Regions from separate parts of the Homo sapiens genome. Here region 1 is linked to region 2. The links are contacts of gene promoters, found by promoter capture Hi-C in blood cells and fetal thymus (Javierre and others, 2016). All regions are on one chromosome and are shown on one strand. The core of a region is centred on a gene start or on the middle of the fragment in contact, and the rest is flanking DNA. Distances in the headings are between cores, read along the strand shown. Region 1 overlaps CARMIL1 (capping protein regulator and myosin 1 linker 1). Region 2 holds the start of H3C2 (H3 clustered histone 2).

Region 1 (5,267 bases), core at 2,756-5,255, 500 kb before region 2:
TTTGGGAATTTCTTAGGACATTATAATTAGCAGTTTTTAGACTTTAATCATTTTAGTCACTTCAGGAGAGATTTACCTTGAAGATTGCAGAAACCTGAATATAGAAAGGATAGACCCTCTGTGACTAATGCCCTTGCCAACTTGATAGCCATCATTCTCAGTCATCATTCTCAGGTGACACCAAAGGCATTAAAGAATGTTTTAATGAAATATTGAAGTCTTGTAACTGGTTGTATTTGTTTTTGTCTGGTGACTTTGATTAGGAAATATTTTTATAAGACTCAACATTCTATTTTCGTTTTTGATGCCTTCTTTTCCAGATGATAAAGCCTCTTAATTAGGACTCAGCAAACCTTTTCTGTAAAAAGCCGTATAGTAAATACTTTAGGCTTTGGAGCCCATAGGATCTCTGTTGCAGCTACTCAACTCTGCTGCGATAGAGTGAAAGCCACCATAGACAACATGTAAATGAATGAGTGTTATTACAATAAAACTGTAGTTATAAAAACAGGCCCAGAATTGCCTGCCACTCGCCAAGCTCTTCTCTTTAGCCTTCTCACCAAGAAAGAAAGAAAAAGAGAGAAGGAGGGAAAGAGAGAGAGAAAGAAAGGGTGAGGAGGGGGCTTTACTTCTTAGAGCTATTTGCTCGTTATATTCTCTTTCCTCTTTCATGTGCACATTTTACATTTGCAGTCCTAACTTCTTTGTTAAACACTCACTTTGCAACCTTTTGAAACATGGCCTCTGTCCCTCTTTATCTACTGAAATGGCTCTTTCATTGGTTTCTTTGTCACAATGTGCAGGGGCCTTTTCTCCTTCTTCATCTCTTGATAAAAGGAGGCAGAATATTATGGTTAAGAACTTGGGCTCTCAAGTCAGATGACCCCAGATGTAAATCCAGGCTCTACTATTCCCTGTGTGAACTTATGTTAGTCACTTACTCACCTCTTTAAGCCTCAGTTTTTTCATCTGTTTATTGGGGATGATGATAGTACCCATCTATGAAGGTGATGTAAAGAGTAACTGAGATAATGCTTGAAAAGTATTTGGCTTCTTACCAGTAAACATTAATGGGTTTTTTTTGGCTGTTATTTTTATTATCACAATTACCATCATTATTATGGACCATCTCATCTTTCTTAAAACTCAGTTCTTAGTTCACTGGACAATGCACCATTCTGAATGTCCTTCTGCCACTCTTGTGTCTTACCTTCTGCTTTCTACACAACTCTTTCTCTTTTCATATCCCCAATGCAGGATTTTTTTTCAAAGCTTTGTATTTAGTGTTCTTTTCCTTTGGCTATTTGCTTCTATTTTAACTCTCTCATTTGTAGATGACTCCTGGATCTAACCATTCAGTCCCTGTTTCTTTCCAGAGAGTCCTATCTTCCCAATTATTTTTTTCAGCATCTCCACCACTTTGGCCTTCTGAGATATCAGTCATTAAGACCAAACTCATCCTTTTGAACTCTTGATTTTGCCATTTCACTCAGGGACATCATCATTCACTGAGGGTTGAACCTTTGGAGTCATCTTGAACTCTTCATTTGCTTTCCCCATCCATTACCCACTAAACCCTGTCCAGTGGCTGCAAAAGATACTTCTTTTGTTTTTATTTATACTACGAGCTCTCTTGCTAAGGTCTTTTTACTAACTACCTTCTACGTCTTTTTTTTTTTTTAACAAGAACTACAAGAACTAGTTTTTTCATTTTATGTGTCTCCTCCTGCTTTCCACAGCCCATGTTCTTTGTATCAGGGAAGCTGAGCCACCGTGAATGTTTATGGGGTAAGGGATTTCTAGAGCTCACAATTGTGGGGAGGAGCTGGGGAAATGACGCTCTGTGCCTTGGACACCATGTTCAACCTCTTAGCCTGCACTGGAGTGCTATACTGTCCTGCCTTAACCCATCATTCCAATCTGATCTCCCACTGTAAGGTGCCTCTGTTCCTAACCAGGAGATAGGAGTCATAGTGTCTGGATGTACCACTGCTTGGGTTTGTTCTTTTGTTTAACGATCCCTTCTGTTTTTCTCAATCCGTACAAATCTTTCAGGACTCAGCTAAAAAAAAAAATAAAAGTTATTTTTAACCTCAGCTAGGTGTGATTCCTCCTTTGGATAAAATTTTTTTAAAAGCTTATATCATTCATTTATCATTGAATAAACAGTTGTAGAAGTCTATGATATGGCAGGCACTATCGTAAGAAACAGGGATTCAGCAGTGAAGAAAATAAAATGTTCATGTCCTTGTGGATATTACATTATGTAGCACTTTATGTCCTGTGTTACTGCTAATTGTGAATATTTCTTCCCACTTCCAGGTTTTTAAGTTGCTGGTGGCAAGGGGTAACCTTTTTCAAGACTGTAGCTCCTCTATGCCAGGTGTCCAGTTTATTTCTCTTGAATGGAATAAAGAAACCAATGTGGAAAATGATAAAATTTTCTATGAATAAGCTGTTTGCTGGAAATAAGAACAGTTGTATCAACTTGTGAGCAACCACAGATGGCATTTATTGCTAATAGTTGTAATTCTTACCCGTGGGTTCAATAGCCCAGTATATCTGAAAAAGCCTAGGTAGTCACCAGCAAGTGTGATATGAGTTAGTGGTGTGATGTAGTTGCCAAAGAAGTCAATTTGACTTGTACCGTATTAATGAAGGTATACTTTCTACAGTAAGGAAGACGATAGCTCTGTTCATCTCAGCTCTGTGCTTTCCAGTCCACTCTTAGTTACAATCCATTTCACTAAGGAGACTTCATGAGGTTCTAGGTGGAAGACAGAATGCAGAAGTGACCTACAGGAAAGGAGGTCAAGGACTGGAGAACTGTGTCAGCGTAGGCATGGGAAAAGGAGCTGGGAATGTTAAACCTGAAGAAAAGAAGGCTAAGGAAGAAAAATAAGTGTATTTAAATATGTGCAGGACTGTCACTAGAAGAGAGCATATGATTGTGCAGAGTGTTCTCAAGGGGAAGATATGGGACCTGCAGGAAGGGTGTAAGAAGACAGATTAAGACTCAAAACCTTATCTAGGAATGACAGGGTACATTTTCTTGGAAGGAATTGAGCTTCATAAACTATGGCCGTCAACAACTTTTCTGTATTGCTTTAGAGAAACTGAACACTATAGGGTTAGGGTGAAGTAGAGAGGTTAAACTAAACAGCCCTAACACAACCATCTTCTATGAGGTCTTCTAACGGGGTAACCCAAGAGATTATAGCCTTTCAGATTGCATCTCCTTTATTTTTCGTATTTATGTACTTGAGAGACGAATTATGAACTGATAAACCCCTTGATTTACTTTTTTCAAAATTTTCAATCTGTACTCTGTGTAATCATTGCATGTCATCTTAAATAGTTTACCTTTTCTGAGCTTTGAGCTCTTTCATGGTAAAGGATCTAAATGTGGTCTGCTGAGCTATGCTCAGAGGAATCTTGGAGACATGAGATTTTATGTCTTCTTTGAATTGAAGAACTTAATTTTGATTGTTCTTTTGCATGACATTTTAAATGTTCTACTTAAAGACCATTTTTGTTGAGTTCATGTAAATCCTCTCCCCTTGGTGAATGCTTAAGGGCATACATTTCAAGTGTCTCTTTGTTCTCTCGTGGTGATTAAAGATACCAACTTTATAGTGCCTCATCCACATGCCTCTCAAATTAGCCTTTTGCAGCCCCAAATGTATATCAGTTTCTTTCTTAGTGTGTGGTTTGTCTCTTGAAATTAGGCATTCATTCTTGGTAAGATATGAATTATTAATGACCCTTTTTGCTTCAGGAGGCACAGATCAATACAATAGTTAGAAGAGTTATGATTTCTATCAATTAAGATTTTAAAAAACTTATAGTTAGCTCTATGCAGGGCATTGTGTAAATGCAGAAAGATATGATTCCTGCCTACAATCAGAGGCAGGAATCATAACTTTCTTGTCTTAGATTTTTAGGGATTTTAGGCAGAGAATTTGATGTGAGAAGCAATATTCATACAACTTCTTTTTCCTAGGGGGATCTCAAGATAATAACGTATGTAACCTCAATATATTTTACAGCAATAGGAGCTGTTTTTATTATACATAAACTTTGGCATTACTGGCCCTTTTTCAACAATAGGTGCTTGAGTGCTGTTATTTTATTGAATTGTCTTCATAACACACTAATAAAGAATGTGCGGTAGATATTATGAACCTGACTTTACAAAGAAAAAGGCAAGAGAGATGGCAGTGCTACAGCAAGTAGACATGGGCTCTGTAATCAGACCTGAAGTCTTCGGAATAGTGTGTAAAGTCTCTATCATTTTGAAATTTATGGGGGAAGAAGGGCAGACTTTAGCTTCCTATCGTTATGATATCAAATAATTCAAAATAGAGAAGTGTGAATTTAACTAAAAAAGAATATTGTTTGTCTCCTCTGCCAAATGAATTATCAGATGGAAGAGGACTCTTGACATGTAAGGCCTTTGAAGAATGAATACTTTTTTTAAGAACATGAAATAAATAGACAACCGGCAGCTCTAACGAAAATATTGGAGACACTTTTAAAACCACACTGTGGTTATCTTTTTCTTCAGACTTCTTGGCTTCCTTCATGCTTTTTTGTATAAGTACAAATATAGAAGAGCATAATCTTAACCTTTCTGAAATATTTTTTGTCTACCATAGAGATCCACCATCTCCCATTGGGTTTTGTGTTTATATCCGTAAAACAATTGAGAATGATTTAGGTGCAATTAAACTGGTAGGGGAGGCATCTTATTGTAATAGAAACTAGATGATATTGACTTCATTACTACCTATGTTAATATAATAAAACCTCAATTTGTTTTTGTTTTTTGGTGGCTCTTAATTTACAAAGAAAAATACTTGATGTAATTGAATCGATTTTTAAAATACCAATTTTTAAGAGATGTTCTGGTTTCTATAGTATTGAGACCAACTGGCTGTTGGGCATCATTTTGTAGTCATTACAACAGTCTCAGTGTTGCACATTTTATTTCTCTGTTTCCTCAGTACCTAACTCTATGTCTAACACATAGAGGGTGCTCACTAAAAGTTAATGAAGGAGTTAGTATCTAGCAAAATGTCACTGAGTGAGGTTCTGAATCATCAAGAAGTGTTCACTTTTGTTCTACGTGCTGCATTTCCTAAGGCAGGAAAGGGAACTGAAATGCCTTCAATTTTTTTCTGGCATTAAAGTTGCCAAAGGTTACTTGCATGAATAAAGTAAATTAATAATTGCTTACAAGCAGCATTCTCAGTGACTCCAGTTAG
Region 2 (5,003 bases), core at 681-3,180:
TACATCAGATCCAGCACATCTATAACTGGAAAAAAAATACTTGACCTTCAGCTGGGCCCAGAGCTTGTGAGTAGTCACCTTGGCATAGACCAAGTCCATTGGCATCTCTAACATATCTATACTGTCTGTGGATAACAAATGTCTATGCCAGTTAGAGTCGCTTGTATAAGAGTCAAGAAAAACGAATCATAAAACAAACTGACATATTCATTTTCATAATTTTTAAAATGCAAATATTACTTTATAAACCAAAAACTGCCTTATTAAAAGCTGGAACACAAATGAATTTAAGTAAACGATGCAATTCAAATTTAATCTTTTGTGTGTGTGATTTGTTGTTGTTGACAGTTGGTCAGGCGATTTTAGTATGGTACATCAGTTTACATTCTAGATGTAGGCCAAGAAAGAATGTTAGGTGTAAAAAATATTTATTGTAAAAAAGAATGTGAGGCAAGGTCTTTGGAATTAGTAGTTTTAATGTTGGACATTCTGTGGTTGTTCTAAAGTTAGTCTGTAAAATGTGATGTAAAAGCTATATGATAAAAAAATACAAAATATAAAAATTTTAAAGTAAATATTACTTTTGTTTGCGTACAGTATTCCCATCCCTCTAAATTTTCTTCCAGTACTCAATCCCCAACCTCCAAAACCGAAAAGCAAGATCAACAGAAAGAAAATGGTTAAAACTTGTAAATTCTAGATTTTAATAACTACAGGCAAGAAGTACTGAAAAAAAGAATGTGGCATGTCATGGTGCATAGTCCTAGAGGAGACAAAGCAATGCAACCAGATAGACTATTTACAAGCAAAGCCACACATATAAAAATTCATATATAAGGGATTAAATTATGCTTGGTCGACAGACTGACAGATTTAAAGTGGGTAGCTAGCTATGGATAAAATGAGAGCCAGTTAGATCCCTGCCTCACATTTTGCACCAGAATAAATTTCAGGTTAATGTTAACAGCCAAATGAATTTAACAGTATATATATATATATATATATATATAATATATGAGAAAACCTAGGGGACTATGTATTGAGCTGAGAAAATCTTCCTAAGCATTTTGAGGAAGACACTGGAACTCGCAAGACACAATTTTCTAATCTTTTCAAAGCTTTGCAAAAATGCCTAGTAAGCGCCAGTTAACTACTTACCAGATTTTTCCCTTACTCTTACAAAGTTGTTTAAACAAATGCTAATCATAGCAAGCTAGAGGCCTGAATGATAGTGGACTTACACAGCTTCTCTCCAAATAGCACCTTAATAAGGTCAGAAATAACCTACACTGCAAGACTGACCAAACCGTTATTTCTGTTAATCAACTTTAAGACCATAGTCTAATGCTTTCCGGGGGGGTCCTTAGAAATTTGTTCTGTTAAGACAACAAAAAATTATCACAGCTACTTTCGTTGGAATAAGTGGGTGGCTCTGAAAAGAGCCTTTGGGTTTTAAGACTGATGAAAAAGTGACTTTACATTTACGCTCTTTCTCCGCGAATGCGGCGAGCGAGCTGGATGTCTTTGGGCATAATAGTCACTCGCTTAGCATGGATGGCGCAAAGGTTTGTGTCCTCAAAGAGCCCTACCAAGTAGGCCTCACAAGCCTCCTGCAGCGCCATCACCGCAGAGCTCTGGAAGCGAAGATCGGTCTTGAAGTCTTGGGCGATTTCTCGCACCAGGCGCTGGAACGGCAGCTTCCGAATCAGCAACTCGGTCGACTTTTGGTAGCGGCGGATCTCGCGCAGAGCCACAGTGCCCGGGCGGTAACGGTGAGGCTTTTTCACGCCGCCGGTAGCCGGCGCGCTCTTGCGAGCAGCCTTGGTAGCCAGCTGCTTGCGTGGCGCTTTACCGCCGGTGGATTTCCGAGCTGTCTGTTTAGTACGAGCCATGGCAAAACCACAGAAAAGCTTGCCTGCAGAGACGTCTGTGGAGGAAAGGAAAGAGCTACTCTTCTTTTATAGAGTCAGACCACCAACTATTGGACCCAAGAAAATTCAAAAATCCCCGCGCCCTTCTTGGATTGGTCCATCTCTGTGCCTGGTTGCAGATTAAGAGAGGCTCCTGCCCATTACCGTAGCTACTCTGACGTCATTTTGTTAACCCCTTAGCTGCTATATCCACTGTGGACAAGTCTTGTACTGGAAAAGTTTCCTGAAGTCTTAAAATTTACAACCACACAAAGCAACGCGGAAACCTCCAATTGTTTCTAGTTAAAATATAAAAAAGAAATCAGAGAATATTGGAGACGATTAGGGAAATTTGCATATGCGCTTTATTTAAAATTGTATTTTTCTGGGTGTCGCATAAGAAGTGTGGGCAATTAGAAAAATGCTCTTAGCCGGGCGTGGCGGCTCTCGCCTGTAATCCCAGCTACTCAGAAGGCTGTCAAGAGGATCGCTTGAGCCCGAGTTCGAGGTTACAGTGAGCTGTTATCACGCCGCTGCACTGCAGCTTGGGCGAGAGGGAGACTCCACCCCAAAACAAAGCAAAACATCCCCAAACTGGAAAAAAGCTCATTTTGGGAAATACATACTCAAATGTTCAGTGGTAATGTGTGTGCTCTCAATTGTGTATGCCATTAATTGCTACAGCAAATGGTATGACATATTCAAACTTGTGTGGGGCATGCGGGTTTTAACACTTCCATTCAAGATAGTTAGGAATGCACTCATGGGTATAATTTCCTTCCTCTAAAATGTAGTAACTGCTGTGTGTGAAACTTAACGCGAATCACCCCTGTAAACATGTTTTGTGCTGCATGGCACTTCTCCCACATACCTAGAATTCCTGAGGTTTCTATGGATCTAATTTCTGCAGGACAAATTACTAAAAGTGCCACACTCAAAGCCATTAAAAACACCTCAAAAACATCTTTATGGGCGGCATAATCCAAAGCACAACAGCTCATTTAATGGAAGTCGTAGGTGGCTCTGAAAAGAGCCTTTGCTGTTAGGCTGATTTTGTCTGCTGACAGAAAAACAGCAGTGCATGAAGCGTTAACTCTTCACTTTCCCTTGGCCTTATGATGGCTCTCAGTTTTCTTAGGCAGCAGCACCGCCTGAATATTAGGCAAAACGCCACCCTGCGCGATGGTCACACGCCCCAAGAGTTTATTAAGCTCCTCGTCATTGCGGATGGCCAATTGCAGGTGGCGCGGGATGATGCGGGTCTTCTTGTTGTCGCGGGCCGCATTGCCCGCCAGCTCCAGGATCTCGGCGGTCAGGTACTCAAGCACCGCCGCGAGATACACCGGCGCGCCAGCCCCGACGCGCTCGGAGTAGTTGCCTTTGCGGAGCAGGCGGTGCACTCGGCCCACAGGAAACTGCAAACCTGCACGAGAAGACCGAGTCTTAGCCTTGGCGCGAGCTTTACCGCCTTGTTTGCCGCGACCAGACATAACTACTTCTGATAAGGGAAAATCGCCACAAGAAAATGTAATGAAACTACATTAGAACGCAAGGCAGAGAAGTATTTATACTGACTGGAGGTAGGCTGTGAGGAATTCTCCCATTGGCTAATGTCAAATACCCAATGGGAAATCAGAATCTGCATCCTTCATTTGCATGTAATCCTTCCGTCTGGTGTAAGGTTTATGTTTGACCCAATCCCCAGTCTGGCTTGACGAGCCTTCGACTTGAATACTAATAATAATTGGCCGAATTAGGATTTTGTCAAAATACCTTTTTTAAGCATGAGTGGAGGTTTTGTTCTGGTTATTTTGACTTTCAGCCGCTCGTGCTTTTCCCGGATTGTGACTCATGTTTTTGGAAAGGAGTGGACTCCGACCAATTTCTAAATAGATATTTAAGAGGTCCTTCAAATCGGGCGCAGTGGCTCATGCCCGTAATACCAGCACTTTGGGAGGCCGAGGACGGCGGGTCAGGCGTTCGAGACCAGCGTGGACAACATGGAGAAACCCTGTCTCCAGTAAAATAACCAAAAAAGAAACGGGGGAGAAAAAGAAAAAAAAAAGCCGGGCTTGGTAGTGCACGCCTGTAGTTCCAGTTACTCGAGAAGCTGAGGTGGGAGGATCGCTTGAACCCGAGAGGAGGAGGTTGCAGTGAGTTCACATAGAGCCACCACACTCCAGCGTGGGCGACAGAGCCAGAAGACTGTGTCTCAAAGACAAAAAAAGGGGAGGGGGAGTGGGAGGGAAGAAAAGCGAATACCCCAAATCCCAGTGAACTGTAGAAGCTTATAAGCTCTCTTGATTCATAAGGGAGAAAGAAGGGGGATGTAGGCAACTTAGGGGAGAGTATATGATTTTGGAGAAAAATAAATGGGTGTTTCAAAGAATAGGTGACAGCTGTGACAAAGTCTGTTTAGATGGTGTTAACCACCAGTCTCCTCTCCTGTGATACAGTTAATCTTCTCTGGTTGATGAGATTCCCCAGGGAAGTGAATCTTAACAACTAAATTCCTTTTTGAATTTTTTTTTAATTTTCAAATTTTTGATTAGAGTTCAGCGAAAGCCCTTCCTTGAATTTACTGTTTCCTAGGTGCCCTCAGTTCAAAGAAATCAGCGTAACAAAGTGGCACATTTTTGAGTTGCATTTCCTGAACTTTTTCACAACACTGAATGAGGAGTCTCTGGAATCTTTCAGGAAATGAGAGAACAAACATTCCATAACACAGAAATACTCAAAATGGGATTATGATTATAAAAGTGTTTCACTGACCACCTTCTGCCTTCCTGTCTGTAAGTCCCATTCTCCCCAAAGTCTAGCCATAGAAACCAGAATTCCTCCTCAAGGTAGGCCATACAAACCAGAACTCCTTTTCCCTAGAACCAGCCATAAAACCTAAAAGTATTACTCTAACCTACCTTGTTTGCCTGTAGGTCATAAGACCCCCCATTCTAAAAGAGAGTCTTGTCCTATAACCAGAAGGAAGAAATGCTGCACTGAGAGGTCAAGAAGAATCTTGACAGACAAGCCTTGCGGGGCTTCCCCACTCAGTCTGTTAGCATTAGATCGTACCCTATACAGCTGTTTATCTTG

Evidence for each region. The method cuts DNA at HindIII sites, captures the fragments that hold promoters and counts their contacts. A CHiCAGO score of 5 or more calls a contact.
Region 1: a contact is called between a fragment that was not itself captured here and the fragment with the promoter of H3C2 in region 2, in 1 of 17 cell types (erythroblasts). The highest score is 5.2, in erythroblasts.

What each region holds. Positions count from the first base shown.
Region 1 is chr6:25,532,452-25,537,718 of GRCh38, forward strand. All of the region lies in intron 24 of CARMIL1 (capping protein regulator and myosin 1 linker 1), which reads left to right. Among named protein-coding and RNA genes, the nearest start is that of SCGN, 120 kb to the right of the region's middle. RefSeq lists a silencer at 776-976. The HindIII fragment of the contact is 3,740 bases long and covers 2,136-5,267 here.
Region 2 is chr6:26,030,169-26,035,171 of GRCh38, forward strand. It overlaps H3C2 (H3 clustered histone 2), which reads right to left and starts at 1,931. Exons shown (of 1, transcript NM_003537.4): 1 at 1,421-1,931. The coding sequence starts at 1,892. The coding sequence ends at 1,482. H2AC4 (H2A clustered histone 4) reads right to left here and starts at 3,450. Exons shown (of 1, transcript NM_003513.3): 1 at 2,924-3,450. The coding sequence starts at 3,400. The coding sequence ends at 3,008. RefSeq lists enhancers at 1,568-1,797, 1,838-1,957, 2,895-3,524, 3,828-3,887, 3,928-3,977 and 1 more and a silencer at 3,308-3,407. The HindIII fragment of the contact is 2,287 bases long and covers 1,909-4,195 here.